Linked DNA regions of Homo sapiens: all the other regions are linked to region 1. The links are contacts of gene promoters, found by promoter capture Hi-C in human tissues and cell types (Jung and others, 2019). All regions are on one chromosome and are shown on one strand. The core of a region is centred on a gene start or on the middle of the fragment in contact, and the rest is flanking DNA. Distances in the headings are between cores, read along the strand shown.

Region 1 (3,575 bases), core at 14-2,513:
ACGATCACAGAAATACTAAGAACTCAAAACATTCCCAAATATAGAGGATATAAAGTCTAGTGGTTAAGTGCGGGTACATAGGTCCAAGCTGTCTGAATTTTAATTCTTGTACCAACACTTAACTATTTGTGTGACCTGGGGCAAAGCACTTACTGTGCAGCTTCCTAATAAGTTGGGGATAAGTCATTCGGTTGTTGCGAATGAATTAATACCTGAATTTTTGTGCTCAGAATGCTAGCTATCTTACTATCATTGACTATCATTGACACTAAATTGTTGAAACATAAGTTGAGAGTGGGAGATCCTGCAGCTAATCACACTAATTTTTCAATTTTCTTAACCAAGAACTTGTAGCTGTTTAGATTTCGAAATGAAACCAAAACATTTTCCTAAAGGCAATTCTCTTAACTAAAAGCATGCAGCTCCCAATCTGAATTTTAAAACAAGGCCAAAACACGTTCCCAAATTCCTAAGAATCTAAAATAATCTTTAGAGGCAGGGAGGGGAAAGGGGCGTTAACAGCAAGCCTCAATTCACACATTAGAGTAAGCATGTCTGATAACAAAGTCCATCTGTGACAGACTACCAGGCCCAAATCCCTCTAAAGCAGTTATTTGATTCTCTTCTACTCTCTCCTCTAGAGAATGAGTATAAATATGCTTTCGAAAATAGAAAGCCAAGCTTTTGAATGGGAGTACATACAGCAAAGAGCTGGGAATCTAACTTAATGGCAGCAACGGGAAAACTTCTCCAGAGAGTCACCACTTATTCCTTTTTTCCCCAGTGACCAAGAGCACCGTGGGGTCAAACTCCTCTTGGGTGGGTGATGGGGAAACGGCGACCTTCCCTCATCTGGCCCCTACGCTGTCCTCTGGTAGCAAAGCTCCGGTGCAGAGCAGCTAGCTACACTCCCTCTCTCTCGCTCCTCTCGCTGGTATCTGGTGCCCGGACGGGGAGCCCCAGGTTCCAGCCTTCGGCTGCCTGGCTGGAGGACACACAGCAGAAGAAACAATAGGGCCGTGGCGGCCGCCGTACCTCTCCCGGTCGCGGCCGTCGAAGTAGACGAAATCGCCGCTCTGAACGCATTTGGCGCAGGTCAGCCGCCGGCGGGTAGTGTTGCACAGCGGGCAGCGCTCCACAGCCACGTACAGCCCCTCCGCATCGTCCACGGAGTCCACCAGGTCCCGGGCGAGCGGCCGGGGCCCGCAGCCAGGAGCCTCCAGCGCCCGGGCTCCCTTCCCACTGGGAGACGCCATGATGGCCTGAGAGGAGAGCCAGTCACGTGGGATTTTGTTTTCAACCGGGTGCATTCTGGGCCAGGAGGAGGGGCCTGGGGAAGGGGGGCTGGGATGCCGGCGAGCCCCCGGACCCCTCCGCCGCCGCGTGTTCCTGTCCCGGGCACTGTTGTTTTTCCGGTCTGCTGAGGGGCAACAGGTCCCGAAGCAGGGGGAGAGTTATATTAGAGGGGCTAGTCGGCCAAACAAAATGTCATCTGCTGGCTCAGGCCAAGACTACGAGTTAAAGCCTCAAACTTGTGCAGAAAATTGTAATACCATACCCTAAGGATTCTGGGAAAACGGAATGGGAGCGGAATAAGGGAATTTAACTTGCTGTGGATGCTTTAAAATCTGGCTAAACTACAGCAAACAAAGTAGGGTGAAGGGGCTGGGTCTTGGAACTAGGTTGAATTTTGGCTCACTCACCTGCTTAATAGCTGTGTGACTTGGGGCAAGTTCCTTAATCTCTCTGCGCCTGTTCTCTCGTGTTAAATGGATAGAATTATAGTACCCATCTAATGCCGTGAGGATTAATATGGTTAATAGTATTATACTTTACCAATAGTGAAAACAACCAAAGTGAACGTGCAAAATCAGAATTGTATCCTTCTGAAAAGTTAATCACGTGGCTAACGTACCTTCCCTACCCTGGGCCATGCTCTAAGAGAATTTGAACTAGGTAGATGGTTAGGACTTCCCTTCAAGTTTCTTTTGGTGGATAGGGGATATATAAGGTGATGTGTTGGGAGGATCATATCAGAGTAATTAGTGTTTGAATATGCCTCTAAACTACAGAGAAAAGTGAGTTTATAGGTGAGATTAAATAGACCAGTGATTCTCAAGGATGATTTTACTAGGCTATCTACTGATAAACTGCCCTGAATTCTCTCTCTAGCCAGGATTCCTTTCTCAAGTTCCATACCCAAAGATCCAGAACTACTTACTAGGTATCAGGTGACATTCCAGGACACCACAAACTCAAAGTGTTGGAAACTGACTTCTGCCTCCCTACAAACCTGTTTTCTTACTTTGGTAAAGGACGTAATCACTGATGATTTACAGCCAAGAGCCATGATTCATATTAGCCCGTCCCTCCCTGTTAATCTCCACATCACCATCGAAAACTGGTGATTCTACAAGCTAATTAGGTCTTGAATCTGAGCCCTTTGCTCCTCCGTCTTCTTAATCTTACCCAGTCTTTTTAAATACAAATCACGTAGGATTACAAAAACAAGCAAAAGCAAAAATTCTCTATATTCAGAATACAGTTTACACTAAACTTGAATGGTTCCTGAAAGTTTAAGATTTATTTTTAAGTGAGAAGTCTTTCTCTCTGATCATTTCAAACAAAAGGATTATTTTTTAAGGTCTCGGGCTTATGTTTCATTTGTATTCAGACAGGATCCTTCACAGTGCTTAATACCTAATGATCAGGATCAACTGTTCAATATTTTAAAAGGCAAAAAATACACATTAATTCCTATCGTGCTAGATGATATCACAGATAGTATCTAGCTTATGCAGTTATTTGAAACTCCTATATGTTGCTATATATTTTCAGAGAACGCATATTAATGTATTACTTAACAGCAGAGCACTGAGGTTTTTGGATACAAAATGTAGTTTAAATATTTCTTTAAGGGGAGGGGGCGGCGCCACACTTCTCAATGAAGAGAAACATTTGTACAGTTCAGAATTTTTTTTGACACCTATTATGCCATGAACTCATAGGGAATAGGTTCCAGCAGCCCAGGCTCCCTCCATTGGTTCTAAGTGCTTGTCTGGGTGGAGCAGGCTGGCGCTTCAGTTGAACTCAGACACCTCTCCCTTTGACGTCTTTTTCTGATTATTTACCTTCACGCGTTTCAGGAAACTTACTTGGCTCTTAGAGTGCCAAGGCCCAGGCAGATGGATCAACTGAGGTCAGGAGTTCAAGACCAGCCTGGCTCAGTAAGCACATTCATTCTCTTGGCAAAAATCTTGCCCTTGTTTACAATGCCAACAGCATGCTGGGTAACACTGTAGACTCTTCCAGCTTTGCTGTGGTAACATTTGCGGAGCACTCCTTTTTGAAAAGCAGCCATTCCCTTGATGTCTACAATATCACCTTTTTCGTAGATTCGCATGTATGTGGCCAAAGGAACAACTCCATCTTTTCTAAAAGGCCTAGAGAACATGTATCAGGTGCCTCACCTCTTTCCCTTTGTGTTCGTCATTTTGGCAAATTACTGGAAGATGGCCCTTCCGGCTAAAAGGAAACGCATTGAGTCTTCATGATGCTACAATATCATTCTAGTG
Region 2 (3,476 bases), core at 422-2,921, 170 kb before region 1:
CTTGAGCCACCGTGCCCGGCCTGGTTTTGTACATCGTAGGGAGACATGAGACATCAATGTGTGTAAGATGTACATTGGTTCAGTCTGGAAAGGTGGGACAACTTGAGGCAAAAGCAGGACAACTCTAAGCAGGGAGGCGGCTTCCAGGTCACAGGTAGATAAGATTCAAATGGTTGCATTCTTTTGAACTTCTGATTAGCTTCTCCAAATGAGGCAATCAGATATGTATATATTTATCACAGGGAGCAGAGGGGGGTGACTTTGAATAGAAGGGGAGGCAGATTTGCCCTAAGCAGTTCCCAGCTTGAGTGATTTTGGGGCCCAGAGATTTATTTTCCTTTCCAGAGTTTATACTAACATTTGCATTTTAAATTATAACTACAAGGTTTTTAGTTAACTTCTATATTAAATCTATATCTCCTTTCCTCCATGCCAAGAACCCTAGTTCTCAAGGTAACAGGGGATGATAGAATTTGAAAATTTCATGACTTTCATTTACTTTTTCCCACATAAAACCAGCAATCTCAGAATAATAATAGTAGTTATTTTAGAATAACAACTTTACTACTGGCAATTAATATTCATAATACAATCACCACCAACTACTGAAAATGGTAAATAATTTTTTATATGTTATCCCCATTCTTACCCCAGTTTTAAATTGTTGTATCATAGCTACCCTGTCAGAGCATATAACCTTTATATTCTATCATCTGCCTCCCTTTTAAATTTTATTTTGTCTTAGTTCTACAGGCAACTTCCTCCTTTCATCTACTACTTCTCTTAAAGCATTTTGTGTGTGTGTGTGTGAGTGTGTTTCCCTTTTTTCTTCTAGTTTAGTGTTAATCGTTACTATAATTTTTTTTTCTTTTTTCCTCTTTTTTAGAGATGGGGTTTCCCTATGTTGCCCAGGTTGCTCTCGAACTGCTGGGCTCAAGCGATCCTCCTGGCTCAGCCCCGCGAGTAGCTGGAACCACAGACGTGCACCACCACACCCAACTAATTTTTTGTAGAGACGGGGTTTCGCCATGTTGCCCAGGCTGTTCTGGAATTCCTGGGCTCAAATGATCCACCCACTTTGGCCTCCCAAAGTGCTGGGATTATAGGCATGAGCCATATGAGTCATTGCGTCTGGCCACATTATAGTTTTTAGTCTTTTTTTTCGCATTATCGTTTTGATCTGCTTCTTGAATATGTCTTTATGGTGTACTTTCATTTTTTGCAGGAATGTTATTCTGCTCCGTATTCTCTTTTTTTCTTTTAGTAAATTTGGAATTTGACCTTAGTATTTTTCTATTGTTCGTTCTTAAGTAAAATTAGTTTTTCTGAACTTCTAATGGTGGCTAGGTTCAGATAGATTTTGCTAACATCACTGAGGTACTTCTTCGCTTTTGTGTAAAGTTTTAAATATATAACTGTCTGCAGTTTTGAGATTTCCTGGCTCTGCTCTCCTTATTTACTTTTTATCTGGATCTCCTTTTTTTTTTGAGATGGAGTCTCACTCTTGTTGCCCAGGCTGGAGTGCACTGGCGCGATCTCGGCTCACTGCAACCTCCGGGCCTCCTGGGTTCAAGTGATTCTTCTGCCTCAGCCTCCCGAGTAGCTGGGATTACAGGCATGCGCCACCATGCCTGGCTAATTTTGTATTTTTAGTAGAGACGGGGTTTCTCCATGTTTATCAGGCTGGTCTCGAACTCCCCACCTCAGGTGATCCACCCGCCTCGGCCTCCCAAAATCCTGGGATTACAGGTGTGAGCCACCATGCCCGGCCTGGATCTCCTTTTTATGTGTTGTCCCTATCTTGATCAATTTTGATCCCACACCCAGCAGTTTCTCTCAGAGCTGTGTCCTGGAAGTGAGATTTGGACATTCAGTATTGTAAATTCAGAGGGGTTAGAATGTCCCCACCCCTTTAGGTCTTACTGAGTTTCCTTGTGCTCTTCTGCAATTAAAATGGGCAAAACCCCTACCAGTTTCAGTTGCCACTCATGGATTGACCCATTGTGCTTTCCAGTGAATGCTGTTGCTCTTTGGATTCTCCTGTTCTCACTCTATCAAATGTCTCATGGGCTCCCTTTCCTGTCTCTTACACACACTCCAACATCATGCAGGTCTTGTGGTTGACGATGGTGTGTCCCCATATGCTTCTATTCTGTGGTTTGTGGGGATGCCTTGCCATCTTCTTTAGCTGTAAATGTTATCCTTGAGTTTTAATTTTGTTGTCTAGTTTCTCTGTTCATATGCAGGGGGTTTGAGAAGATCCAAAACCATGCTCTCACTGTCATGTTTCTAGAAGCCCTATAACTTTCAGGGAACTGAAATTTAATATATTTTATATGATACATTATGCTTTTAAAAAATAATTCTAAAATAATTTCAATCTTACAGCAAATTGCAGGAATAATTCAGAGACTTCTCTTTATCCTTTACTTAGATTCCCTAATCAATTAATATTTTACCATATTATCTTTTTCTCTCTCATTTTGTATATAAAACATATAAAAGTCCAGTAAAATCATTATAATCAATAAATTAAAATTAATACAATACTAACATCCAATCTGCAGACTAGATTCAAATTTCACTGATTGTCTCCATAATGTGCTTTATAATCACCCTTTCCTTTCTGACCCAGGAACCAATAGAAGATCATGTGTTGAATTTAATTGTTATGTCTTCTTAACCTCCTTCAACTTGGAGATTCCTCAGTTTTTCCATGTCTTTCATGTTGACCGTTTAAAAGAGAACAGGCAATTAATTTGTAGACTGTCCCTACGCTTGAGTTTGCCTTAAGTTTCTCATGGTTAGATTCAGGTTATTTGTTGGTAGTGGGTTTTTATGGAGGCGTACCACAGAAGTGATGCTATGTTCTTCTCAGTGCAGCATCAGAAGGCAACAACGTAATTTGTTCTATTTCTATCAGGGTTGACTTTTATCACTTGGTTAAGATGGTGTCTGCTGAATTTCTTCACTGTAAAATTAATTAATAAGTATTTTGTACTTACTAGGTTAAAAGTTATTAATAGGTATTTTGTGGAGAGCTACTTTTTTTTTTTCAGTTCAAACTCATTTCCCTTTTATTAAAGTCCAGGTTACCATTACATGGGTTGGTACTCAATAAAGGAAAACTTGTTCAAATAAGGTATATATTATCATCAGTATTTCCAGGTAACTGTTTACACACAAGTAGCAATATCAATAAATCCTTGCAAAGCCCATCCATGGGGTTTACACCTTGTCAAGGCCCAGATCCTCCGGAGTGGAGATTCCCAGTTCATTTAAAGTTGGTCTGAGTTCCTGTATGACATAGGGGTAGATTTCCTTATGAGGTCCTGCTTTGTCCTTAACAGCCTCTAGGATGCCAACTGCACTAGCAAAATCGTTTAACCGTCTGCATGCCCGCAAAGCAGCATCAACAATTTTGGGCTCTGGAACCGGATCATAGCTAACAAGTGTGTTCATCCCTTTACGCAATT
Region 3 (3,921 bases), core at 716-3,215, 230 kb after region 1:
TAAAGGTTGAAACTTATTACTAGCACTTAAAAGCAGTGTGATGTTGATCAAATAGCTTAACCTTTGTGACACCTCTCATTCCAAGCCTTTCACATGGAGATTATATTATATTTACACCATAAAGTTGTTAGATTTGAAAGGAGAAGCTTATGTATGGTGCCTAGTCTAGTGCTTTGTTTATGACAGGTATCTAAACCTTAATTCTTTTCCCTTAGAGTATTTATTTTATCCATCTCATCTCCATCCCCTGCCACCATCACTATTCATTTTATATTTATAGCAAGACATCAAAACTATATCAGCTTTGAATAAGCATGGTTCCATAAATTAGAGCCCAGTGGTATCTGTTCTCTGCCTATTCCTCAGTGCTGCCTTCGTACTCTTCTTCTACGCAGCTCTTACAATTACAATTTATTAATAAAACACAAACTCTTGATGACACATTAGAATAGGAAGTTTGCGTTTGTTCCTAATATTAAGTTTTTGAATTGTACTTTTATTGGAAGCCGAAATGTAAAGCCATTGCAAATGATAGCACTTCTTTAGCAAATGCATGCGTTCTTTCATTTATTTTAAAATTCACATTTATGCAGATATTGAGCTGGTGTAAGTAGCTGTGCCTCTGGAAGTATTTTGTTAACTTGTCAAGAAATAATCCATTTATTCTACCTCCCCGTATGATATTAAGTGCATTATTACATAGTCTTACTACTTACTTTGTATTTGCTTTACCCTTGTAAACTAAAGGTAATAGAGGAGACAGTGCTGAAGGGATGATATTTAGTTTAAATGGCATTTAAGGCTTATTCTTTTTTTTTTTTTTCTTCTTGAGACAGAGTCTTCCTCTGTTGCCCAGGCTGGAGTTCAGTAGCACTATCTTGGCTCACTGTATCCTCCACCTCCCAGGTTAAAGCCATTCTCGTGCCTCAGTCTCCTGAGTAGCTGGGACTACAGGCATATGCCACCATGCTCCGCTGATTTTTGTATTTTTAGCAGAGACGGGGTTTTGCAATATTAGCCAGGCTGGTCTTGAACTCCTGGCCTTAAGTGATCTGCCTGCCTCGGCCTCCCAAAGTGCTGGGATTACAGATGTGAGCCACTGTGCCCAGCTAAGGCTTATTTTTGTCTTATTTCCTTTTCTGGTATAGCTTACAAAAAAGATATGATACCAATTATAAGATTTCTCTCCCCCCACCCTCCCTTACCATCTCTGAAATAAGAATGTATCTTGTAGTCTCTGGTTACAGTTTAGTTGTTTAGTTGGCAACATTTTTAATTTTTACTGTTAAATAGCAGTGGTGAGATATAACATTGGTGACTTGGATTAGATAAAATGTAATAGATTTTTGTGTGTGTGTTCTTACTTGGAAAAGCAGAGTATAGTTTCTGTGTGTTAGTTACCAGAGATTTTTGAAATGCTGATAACCAGTGTATGAAGTTTTAAACTTTAAAATTAACTTCATGGAGGTAAAACAAATGCTTAGAAACTTCTGAAACTGTCCTAGAATTCTTATATTCTAGTAGTATCCAGGTGCTGGCGACTCTTATTTAAACAGAAAACTTCTGTTCTTTGCTAAAAATGGTATTTTCCATCATTAGATAAAAGTAAAACCACCAGCCTTAAATTTTTCTTTTCCTTTAAAATCATGTAATACCTTGAGAAATGCCATTGTAATACCTTATGTAAAATTCCCAATCATATTTATGAAAGTTAATATTATTGCTATCTTATTAAGTCAGCCTTTTATTATAATGTTTCTACGTACTTTTAGATGTTTTGTTAAAGTGACAACTTTTAGTATGAGATGTGCTTTTGTTATGAAGAATAATTCACAGGATAAAATTTTATAGCCACATTTTTTGATTTATTTAAAAGAATTATTTGATAAGGGGGAAACTCATTTTGTGATACTAATTTAAGATCTGTTGGGTAATTCTTAGAATTGTTCTTCTGACTCTGAAAGCTTTTTATTAATAGTCTAGAAAGCATATGACTGAGGTTTTGGTTATAGTTGAGACTTCTTTCATCTTGGCAGACAAAGAATCATTTCTGTGGCTTTTCCTCTAGTCGTTTTTATTGTTGCTGCTAGTGAAAGAAGAGAAAAGATTGGTATAATCTTAATTTCTGTCATTTCCACTTTTCTTTAACCCCTTTCTATCCCACAGTCAGAATTCCAAGTGACAGTTGAGAGATTGAACAGTTTAGTTATGTAAAAATTTCAGTCCTTTTACCCCATGGATTTTTATTCTGGAGGAAAAGATTGAGCGTATAAAAGCAGAAACCAATAATGGTGCCAAGTTGTTGTTTCTTCAGGTGTAGGAAGCAGAAAGACAACAGGTACCAAGTAAGTTAACCTGTTGATACCCTAAAGGAGGGAAGGCTGCATTTGGATTTAGGCTTGCAGATGGTCAGATAATGCAAATAAATCATTTACTAATATTTCATTTACTCAGAATAAGACTTTTTTTTTTTTTTTTTTTGCTGTGGGGGAGCACATTTTGACTTTTAGTGAAGGAGCAGCATGACATTCTTATTCCAGTAGATTTTTAAGATTCAGTGATCAAGATTATTAAGTGAAAACTATAAGAAGTTTCTTCTTTTTGCCCTACTGCCTTGTTAAATTGTATTGCAGAATATATTGTATATGGTTTAGTTTTGGAAATCATCTAGGGGAGGAAACAGTAGGATTGGATTAAACCAATAAAGTATGAAGTAAAGTAAAAATGTTGGAGGAGATGCAAACTAAGCTGAGTCAGGTTTATGCAATAGAGTATTTGATGAGCTGCAGACCAAGAATACTTTCTAAACTGGAACTTCATTAAAAAAAATTCATCAAATACTTATTTACTAGTTGAGTATATGCTAGTTGCTTACCTACATGCTGAGGTTGCAGAGATGAATGAGACTTGATTCTTGCCCTCCTAATATGGAGATAGATATGTTAAACAGAAAGTTATGGTGAATGAAGTTTCTGAACTCTATACAGGTTTAGAGGAAGAGATAATGCATTCTATTAATATTTGAAGGAGGTGGGGAGGTAACACAGGGAACAACTAAACCTCGTTTTGAAAAATGAGCATGAATTTGCCAAAGAGCTAAGAGACAGTCCAGGCTGAGGGAATACAATGTTCAAAGACATGACAGTGTGGCAAGATTGGCATATTCAGAGTATTGGTATATTGCAGAAGTACAAAATACAGGAAGGATGTAAGGAGTAGAGAAAGATTTGCTAAGACCTAATTATGAAGGGCTTTGTATGCTGTGTCAGGACCATGAACCTGATGCAGCATGTGGGTAAGCCACTAAAGAGTGTTGCAAGGATAAATGAGCATTTAGCCTAACATTTTAGAAAGAATACTCTGGTAGGTAGGAGTAACTAAAGGTACAATACAGTAAATGGTTAAGGTGCAGGTAACTTAGACTTAATAGTGTTATGTCTTTTTGTGAGATGGCATTCATTGAAAATATAGATGGACAAAAGCCATCTTCATGAATGATTTAAAGGCTTAATGCATGATTTGTTTTTCATAGTATAAACCTGATTTAATGTACTTTTGACAACTCCTATTTCCCTTCTCATGTTTGGATTATTTTTTCCCATTGGGAAGTTTTTTCCTGTGCCTCCTACAAAACAATTCTTATGAACTAGAAGCAGAGAGAAGAATTAGGGTATTATGATATTTGAGATGAGTAAGCTGAGGGCCAAAACTTAGGCATTAAAGAGAAGGGTTTAATTTCATAAATATGTACAGAGTGGAATTTTAGGACTTGGATAGGGCAGTGGAAAAATTAATATCATTTGTAAAAAATGATTGTAATAAGATTGGGAAAAACAAAAAAATGGGAAAAAAGTAAGAAACTAGCAAGATTGGGAAAGAGGTGCACAGAAGAGAATGTTCTAGGAGAAAGACCCTAAATCT

The links. Contacts are between HindIII fragments. The study calls those that stand out against the background at their distance.
Region 2: a fragment that was not itself captured here is called in contact with the fragment with the promoter of ATG14 in region 1 in 1 of the 25 tissues and cell types used here (IMR-90 fibroblasts).
Region 3: a fragment that was not itself captured here is called in contact with the fragment with the promoter of ATG14 in region 1 in 2 of the 25 tissues and cell types used here (aorta and hippocampus).

Annotation. Positions count from the first base shown.
Region 1 is chr14:55,410,567-55,414,141 of GRCh38, forward strand. ATG14 (autophagy related 14) reads right to left here and starts at 1,264. Exons shown (of 10, transcript NM_014924.5): 1 at 1,036-1,264. The coding sequence starts at 1,256. It also overlaps a transcript of FBXO34 not described here and the pseudogene RPL21P6. RefSeq lists a silencer at 1,254-1,553. The HindIII fragment of the contact is 14,251 bases long and covers 1-3,575 here.
Region 2 is chr14:55,237,394-55,240,869 of GRCh38, forward strand. It overlaps the pseudogene COX5AP1. Among named protein-coding and RNA genes, the nearest start is that of FBXO34, 32 kb to the right of the region's middle. The HindIII fragment of the contact is 9,558 bases long and covers 1-3,476 here.
Region 3 is chr14:55,642,099-55,646,019 of GRCh38, forward strand. The region is part of intron 18 of KTN1 (kinectin 1); the gene reads left to right. Among named protein-coding and RNA genes, the nearest start is that of KTN1, 64 kb to the left of the region's middle. The HindIII fragment of the contact is 7,767 bases long and covers 1-3,921 here.